Linked DNA regions of Homo sapiens: region 1 is linked to region 2. Evidence: promoter capture Hi-C in human tissues and cell types (Jung and others, 2019). All regions are on one chromosome and are shown on one strand. Each heading gives the region's core, a stretch centred on a gene start or on the middle of the fragment in contact. The rest is flanking DNA. Distances are from core to core; before and after follow the strand shown.

Region 1 (4,129 bases), core at 460-2,959, 42 kb before region 2:
CACCGTCTGGCCTGGCCACGGCCCCTGAGAGTAGTTACATGATGCCTGGCAGGCCGATGATATTGCCTGTCACCCCTTCGGCCAGCTTTCCTCCTGGCCAGGCTGATGTTGGGGTTGTGACCCAGAGATGAACAGGCAGGTCTCAGGGGGCCCCTTGGGGAGGCTGTAGATTGTTCCTGGGAGGGATCAGCTCTCATAATGTCAACAGAGTGCAAGGGGGATGCAACTCATCTGTCATCTACCAGCCCAGGGGCGGCACCGTGTGTGGCTGCCAGGCTCAGCTTACAAACCTCAGAGTCTGGAGACCTGGAGGAGGGGAGGCGAGGAGCCCATGTTGGGGGAGATCAAATAACAGGCTCTGGGCAGGCTGGAGGGGGACAGAGGGAGGAGGCTGGCCAAGCAATCTCCAAGCCCAGCCCTGCCACCAGTCAATCCACAGATGAGCGCCTACTGCATGCAGCCCTCCCTCCCTCCCTCTCTCCCTCCCTCCCTCTCTCCCTCCCTCTCTCTCTTTCTCCTTCTTTCTTTCCTTCTTTCTTGCTTTCTTTCTTTCTTTCTTTCTTTCTTTCCTTTCTTTTTTCTCTCTCTCTTTCTCTCTCTTTCTTTCTTTCTCTCTCTGTCTCTCTCTCTCTTTCTTTCTTTCTTTCTTTCTTCCTTTCTTTCAGACAGGGTCTCACTCTGTTGCCCAGGCTGGAGTGCAGTGGTGCCATCATAGCTCACTGCAGCCTCCAACGCCTACACTCAAGCATTCCTACTGCCTCAGCCTCCTAAGTAACTGGGATTACAGGTGCACACCACCACACTCAGCTAATTTTTTTATTTTTATTTTTTTAATAGAGACAGAGTTTCACTATGTTGCCCAGGCTGGTCTTGAACTCCCGGGCTCAAGTGATCCTCCTGCCTCAGCCTCCCAGAGTGCTGGGATTACAGGTGTTTGCCACCACGCCCAGCCTAACACCTGTTATGTGCAGTGCGCTCTCTTAGGGTTCTGCTGTCTCGAAGGTGGAGGAGTGATAACCCAGCTGCGGGATGATCCTGTCTGAGGGATGATGGCAGAAGTCAGGCGTGTTCTGAATGTCCTTTGAAGGAAAGATAAAAGGATTTGCTGCTGGACTGGATTTGGTGTGAGAAATGGGGAGAGACAGGAGTCCAGGACAAGGCCAGGCTCTTGGGTCTGGCAGCTGGTGAAATAAGAGTGCCGCTCCCTGAAGATGGCGTGCGGAATCTGAATAGGTTCAGAAGGTTGCAAAATCTTTCTGGGTATGTGCTATGAACTTCAAGGCCAATGTTTCTCTACATTTTGTAACCATAGTCTGAGTAAGAAATGCATTCTGGCCGGGTGCGGTGGCTCACACCTGTACTCCCAGCACTTTGGGAGGCCGAGGTGGGTGGATCACCTGAGGTTAGGAGTTCAAGACCAGCCTGGCCAACATGGTGAGACCCTGTCTCTACAAAAATACAAAAATTAGACAGGTGTGGTGGCGGGCGACTGTAATCCTAGCTACTCGGGAGGGTGAGGCAGGACAATTGTTTGAACCTGGGAGGCAGAGATTGCAGTGAGCTGAGATTGTGCCATTGCACTCCAGCCTGGGTGAGAGAGTAAGATTCCATCTAAAAAAAAAAAAAAAAGAAATGTATTTTACACAACAATCAATACACCTGAAAGTAGAATTTCTGCAGCAATGTTTACCCGTTGCTGTGTGCAGTGCACTCTGATGTTTTCTATTGAATTTCATTTTTTAAAAATTGTGCTGGTTGTGACTTTTATCCGTTGGTCATGATCTAAAAATTGAAAATTATCATTCTAGGTTCTACCTCTTCAAGACTTAGCTTGAGTTCTTTACTGCCCTGGAGAAGTCTGGGAGTGTGGCCGGGTGACCACGGGGCAGCCAGAGCCTGGCAGGGATGACTGGAAGGAGGGGAGCTAAGACTTTGCAGTGTTCCTCCAGGGATGATGATGTAATCATGGAAGGGCTCAAAGCCTTTCCCAAGGACAGGGTCAAGGCTACTAAGTCCAAGTAGCAGGGACAGGCACAGCCCGGCCAGTAAGGGTGTGTGGCCCGGGGCTGGTGCCTCCCTTACTCCCTGGTCCTGCAGAGGACGCCTGGGATCTGCAGCACTGTGGCAATGACATGTTGGGGAGAAGGGACCCTCGCAGGCTCCCAGACCTGCTTTGTGACTTACTGAGTGAGTGCCCGACCCCTGCCTCACCAGCCCTGGGCTTCAGAGCCTGAGAATGAAACCCGCCCTTCTTCCACCTCCTCTCCTGCCCATCTCCTTCCCTCCTTCCTCTTCCCAGCTGGTGCCACGAGGAGCTGGCGGACCTCCAAGAGAATTGGCCAAGAATGCAGCCTCTGGACAGTGACCTGGGTGAGAATCATCACAGTGGCTCACCCCGGACCCAGGAATTTCACTTAGTCCTTGTCATCATCCACCAATGCGGGACAGCTCGGCCCAGATTGTTCATGGCTCAAGACCCCCACCCCACCCCATTCTGCTTGGTTGGGCTGTGTTGTTTATTTTATTTAATGAATTAATTTATTTATTTGAAACAGAATCTTGCTCTGTTGCCCAGGCTGGAGTGCAATGGCACGATCTCAGTTCACTGCAACCTCTGTCTCCCGGGTTCAACTGATTCTCCTTGCCATGGTCCCCTAAGTAGCTAGGATTACAGGTGCCTGCCACCACACCCGGCTACTTTTCATGTTTTTAGTAGAGACAGGGTTTCATTGTGTTGGCTGGGCAGGTCTTGAACTCCTGACCTCAGCTGATCTGCCTGTCTCAGCCTCCCAAAGTGCTGGGATTACAGGCATGAGCCACCATGCCCGGCCGCACTGTGCTGTTTTTAAGCCTCTTGAATATCATCACCTCTCTTTGTTTACAGATGGGGAAACAGTTTACAGACGGGGAAACAGGCTCAGAGGGAAAAAATACCTTTTCAGGGTTTTCCAGGCAAAGAGTGGCAGAGCAGAGACCAACCTCCGCCTGGCCAAAGCCCTTCTCTGCTTCCTGTCCATTTGTGGGTGATCTGGTGGTTTCTCCTTTTCTTTCTTTCTCTCTCTCTCTCTTTCCTTTCTGACAGAGTCTTGCTTTGTCGCCCAGGCTGGAGTGCAATGGTGTCATCTCGGCTCACTGCAACCTCTACCTCACGGGTTCAAGCGATTCTCCCACCTCAGCCTCCCAGGTAGCTGGGACTACAGGCGTGTACCACCACACCTTGCTTTTTTTTTTTTTTTTTTTTTTGTATTTTTAGTAGAGACGGGGTTTCACCATGTTGGCCAGGCTGGTTTCGCACTCCTGACCTCAAGTGATCTGCCCACCTTGGCCTCCCAAAGTGCTGGGATTATAGGCATGAGCCACTGCTCCCGGCCAGATCTGGTGGGGTTTTTTTGAGACACAGCCAGATCTTCACAGTGCCAGGTGGGGTGATGTGCAGGACTGCAGCTGTGTCTGGATTCTGGACAAGGCTCCAAATGATCACCACCATATCTTGGCTGTTCAGTTAGGTGGGTCTGGGCTAGAGATGAGAAAGGAGGGGTGAGGGAGGAGGAGAGGAATCTGAGCCTCAGATCTGAGGCTGCAGGCCTCTCTGCATCATCTCCTCTTCCACATGGTACCCACTTTTGGGAAAGGCATCCGGATGTGTGCATTGAACAGTATACAAGGGCCTGTGGTCCTGGGACAATATTTTAACACAGGCTTTATTATTATTTGGGTATAGTAAAACCAAGAGATCCTGAGATGACAGTTATTAGGAAGGTTGTTGTACTTACAAATTCCAAGAGGAGGGGACATGCCATACTATGGAGACCACACAGGGACTCACCAGGGTAGGTCAGGAGGCAGAGGGAACACAGGGAGCTCTGGGCAAGAGGCTTTATTGTGGGCAAGATGGGGACACACAGTAAAAGCTTACTTCTCATTCCTGTTATTGCCCAGGCTGCCTGGGCAGATGCTCTACTCCACGCAGTCATTTAGGGATCCAGGCTATTTCCATCTAGTGGCCCCACCATCCTCCCAGGCCTCATAATATTCCACTGGATCAGTCCAGCAGGTGAGAGGGATGAGGGCATGGAGAGTTATGGGGGAGATATTTGTGGGTCAGCCCCAGAAACGTAACACGTCACTC
Region 2 (3,924 bases), core at 673-3,172:
TTTTTTTTCCAGGACTGAGTCTCACTCTGTCGTCCAGGCTGGAGTGTAGTGGTACAACCTCCACCTCCTGGGTTCAAGTGATTCTCCTGCCTCAGCCTCCCAAGTATGTGGGACTACAGGTGTGCACTACCAGGCCCGGCTAATTTTTTTTTTGTATTTTTAGTAGAGACGAGGTTTTGCCATGCTGGTTGGGCTGGTCTCGAACTCCTGACCTCAAGTGATCTGCCTGCCTCGACCCCCCAAAGTGCTGGGATTATAGGTGTGAGCCACCATGGCTGGCCTGAACTTCAGATTTTTTATCTGTAAGGAGGGGTTAGGAGGCCTAAATTAAGTCACCCATAAAAAGGCCATGTCACATGCAGTCAGTGCTTAGCAAGGGGCTATTTTAATCGTCACACTCACCAGTCAGAGACACAAATCTCAATCCTGCCACTATCCAGCAGTTCTGGCCACAGACCCTCCTCCTCTAGGTCCAAGACCTGCTTCTTGCAACACCAGCTGGGAATGCAGGAGACAGGGTAATGAGAACAGGCAGGCCTTTCTCAACAAGGGGCCGGACCTTTGGATAGCAGGGGCATTCACCTGAATGAAGTCACGAAGCACGTCTGAGAAGGGGCCCCAGGCACGGTTGTCCTGTTTTCCTCCACCACCCAGCCGTCCCCACCGTGTTGCACCATCCACTTTCGGAGGCCTTCTGTGAAATAAAAAAGGCTTGTGCCCAAGTTCCAGTCGCCCGCCTGTTGGTTCCTAGTGAGACCCCGCCCCTAGCCCCTCCCACGTGCTCACAGTGCAGCTCACTCACCTGACCCTTCCCACCGAGGCCCCGCCCCCTTCCCCTCCCACCAGCTCAGGGCAAAGCCCCGCTCCTCTGGCCCTTCTCACTGATTTGCAGCAAAGCCCTGCCCCTCCAACCCCTCTCTCGGGCTCCCAGAACTGCCCCACTCCCACCCCTCCCACAGGCAAACGGTGAAGCCCTGCCCAGTCAGCCCTGCACCCTGCGTGCCAATGCTGCCTCGTCCCTCCGACACCTCCCACCGGCTCCCAATGCTGCCCCGCCCCTCCGGCACCTCACACCGGCTCCCAATGCTGCCCCGCCTCTCCGACTCCTCCCACCGGTCCCACTGCGGCCCTGCCCCTGCGGCCCCTAGTACCGGTCCCAGTGCGGCCCCGCCCCTCCGGCCCCGCTACCGCTCCCACTGTGGCCCAGCATCCTGGACTTCCTCTTCCGAGATCCCACCTTGGCCGCAGGGGTTGCGAATAAGGTTGCGTCCGATGGGTCTGCGCGCGCAGAAGCGGCCCAGGGGGCAAGGCCTGGCGTTACGGGCGGGAGACTGGCAGCTGCGGGCGAGGTGCAGCAGCGCGCGGCCGGTGGCGCCGTGGTCGCGGGCCAGGATCAGCAGCCACAGGGCCTGGCCGTCCACCAGGGCTCGCCAGCCCCGGCACACTTGGCGGCAGCGCCCGAGCAGCGTGCGCGGGGGGACGTGGCTCAGCACCACCAGAAGCAGCTCTGGGGGTAGTTGGCTCAGGTCCAGCGCCTCTTCGGGTTCCGGCTCCGGCGCGGGGACCCGGGCGGCCCGGCCCCTGGAGACCGAGGCGCCCATGGTCCCCCCGCCAGGCCCGGCTGTGGCTGCGGGAGAGGAAGGGTCAAGGCGTCAGGGACCAGCAGCCTCCGCGGCGCGCAGCCTCTGCCTGCCCTGATTCTGCCAGCCGCACCCCCGTCTTCACCATCCCTGGGCCCCGTCCCCAAGTCCCCATCCCCCAGCCCGTCCTTGATAGCCCCGATATCCCGGAGACCCCGCGGTCTGTGTGTATGCCCCGAATTGCATGCAATCAGCCCCCCTCGGCGGCCGCACCGACACCGCACCCCAAGTCCTACCCCGGGGCCTGGCGGCGCTCCTCGCCGGGATGCCCTAGCTGTGCCGCAAGCTCCCCACGCCCCTCTGCGTCCTTTTTACTCGCCGGCCCCTCCCCTCTTACTAGCCAGCTTCACCCACCCCTGCATCCTCTTTCTTACTCGCCAGCCCCTCCCGCCTGCTCCCTCCCGCTCTCCAAACCCAACCTGCTTCCCGCGACGGGGCCAGGTGCAGCCAGGAGCCAAGGCCTGCTGCTCACAGCCGTCCCCTCCAGCCGGCCCCTTGAAGTGTCCCTAATTCGTTAGTAGCAATGAGACGTCTGGCTCTGAGCAACCATTGTTATTTTGGTCAGGCTTCTGAGTGGGAGGCCTCGTATCCGTTAACGTGTTAAAAAATTTCCATCACCTTTAAGGTCGGGCGTGGTTATCTTCATTTCACAGGAGAAAACAGGCTCCGGCTGCTAAAAATTAATGCAACCAATAGTAACACCAGCCAACTTTTATGGACGGTTTTACTGCCAGCCAGGGTGGCAACCCCATGAAGTAGGTGCTGTTATGCCCTTTACTTCACAGGTGAAAAAACTGAGACCAGCAGAGGCCAAGTGGCTTGTCTATGATCACCAGCTAGTAGGGATTTGAATCCAGCCAGCCTAGCTCCGGAATTCCTCATTTTAACCTCTAGATCAGCTCTGTCCAATAAAAATACAATTGTGGCTGGGTGCGGTGACTCATGCCCGTAATCCCAGCACTTTGGGAGGCCAAGGCAGGCGGATCGCTTGAGGTCAGAAGTTCGAGACCAGCCTGGCCAACATGGTGAAACCCCGTCTCTACTAAAAATACAAAAATTAGCTGGGCGTGGTAGCACGCGCCTGTAATCCCAGCTAATTTGGAGGCTTAGGCAGGAGAATTGCTTGAATCCGGGAGGGGGAGGTTGCAGTGAGCAGAGATTGCACCACTGCACTCCAGCCTGTGCAAAAGAGTGAGTGAGACTCCGTCTCAAAAAACAAACAGAAAAAAAAAATTGTGAAAGTTGATCATGTGAATTGGATCCTTCTTGTCATATCCAACTAAAACAAAGTTGAGAGGCCGGGGGGAAAACACTTAGGGCAGATACCATTGCTCCAAGAAAGTGATTCTCTGCAAGCCTGGCTGTTAAAACTGCCTGTTGTAACCTGGAAGCAGTCTAACTGGTACTGAAAAAACCTGCCGTGACTCTAAGACTAGTTTTTCCCTCTGCTGTCACTTACCAGTCAGAACTTGCCAGCTCCCCAGAACGTTGCTAGTGTCAATGAACTTTCTTGCAAAACAATACCTAACATTTCTGTTTCTTATAAAAACCTCTAACCTCTTTGTTCTTTGAAAGTTCTGAAGACCGCCTGGTCTGTGTGGATGCCTCGAATGTCAATTCTTGCTTCCCAAATAAAACATTTTATTATTTTTTTGAGACAGAGTCTCGCTCTGTCGCCCAGGCTGGAGGGCAGTGATGCAATCTCGTCTCACTGCAACCTCCGCCTCATGGGTTCAAGCGATTCTCCTGCCTCAGCCTCCCGAGTAGCTGGGATTACAGGCGCATGCCACCATGCCCAGCTAATTTTTGTATTTTTAGTAGAGACGGGGTTTCACCATGTTGGCCAGGATGGTCTCAAACTCCCGACCTCAGGTGATCTGCCCGCCTCAGCCTCCCAAAGTGCTGGGATCGCAGGCATGAGCCACCGCAACAAAACATTTTAAATCGAGAGATTTGTCTCTATATCTCTATATTTTATTTGGCTTCGACATAACGTGAGCTGTATACATAGTTTAAGACATCAACAAACAAAACCAGACATGGATTCTTCCCCACAAAGAACTTACCTTCTAGAGGGAGAGACATGATAAACAGTTGGCATAATGAGCAAATTACGTAGTATCAGGGAAATAATTAAATATAAAACCTCCAGGCCGGGCATGATGGCTCACGCCTGTAATCCCAGAACTTTGGGAGGCTGAGGCAGGCGGATCACTTGAGGTCAGGAGTGTGAGACCAGCCTGGCCAAAATGGCGAAACTCCGTCTCTACTGAAAATACAAAAA

Evidence for each region. Contacts are between HindIII fragments. The study calls those that stand out against the background at their distance.
Region 1: a contact is called between a fragment that was not itself captured here and the fragment with the promoter of FBXO27 in region 2, in 1 of the 25 tissues and cell types used here (hippocampus).

The regions. Positions count from the first base shown.
Region 1 is chr19:38,989,151-38,993,279 of GRCh38, forward strand. No RefSeq gene overlaps it. Among named protein-coding and RNA genes, the nearest start is that of FBXO17, 15 kb to the left of the region's middle. The HindIII fragment of the contact is 7,056 bases long and covers 1-4,129 here.
Region 2 is chr19:39,030,627-39,034,550 of GRCh38, forward strand. It overlaps FBXO27 (F-box protein 27), which reads right to left and starts at 1,923. Exons shown (of 6, transcript NM_178820.5): 1 at 1,877-1,923; 2 at 1,238-1,627; 3 at 583-694; 4 at 403-498. The coding sequence starts at 1,601. RefSeq lists enhancers at 502-611, 1,018-1,810 and silencers at 720-902, 752-991, 1,142-1,221, 1,422-1,571, 1,632-1,701. The HindIII fragment of the contact is 13,585 bases long and covers 439-3,924 here.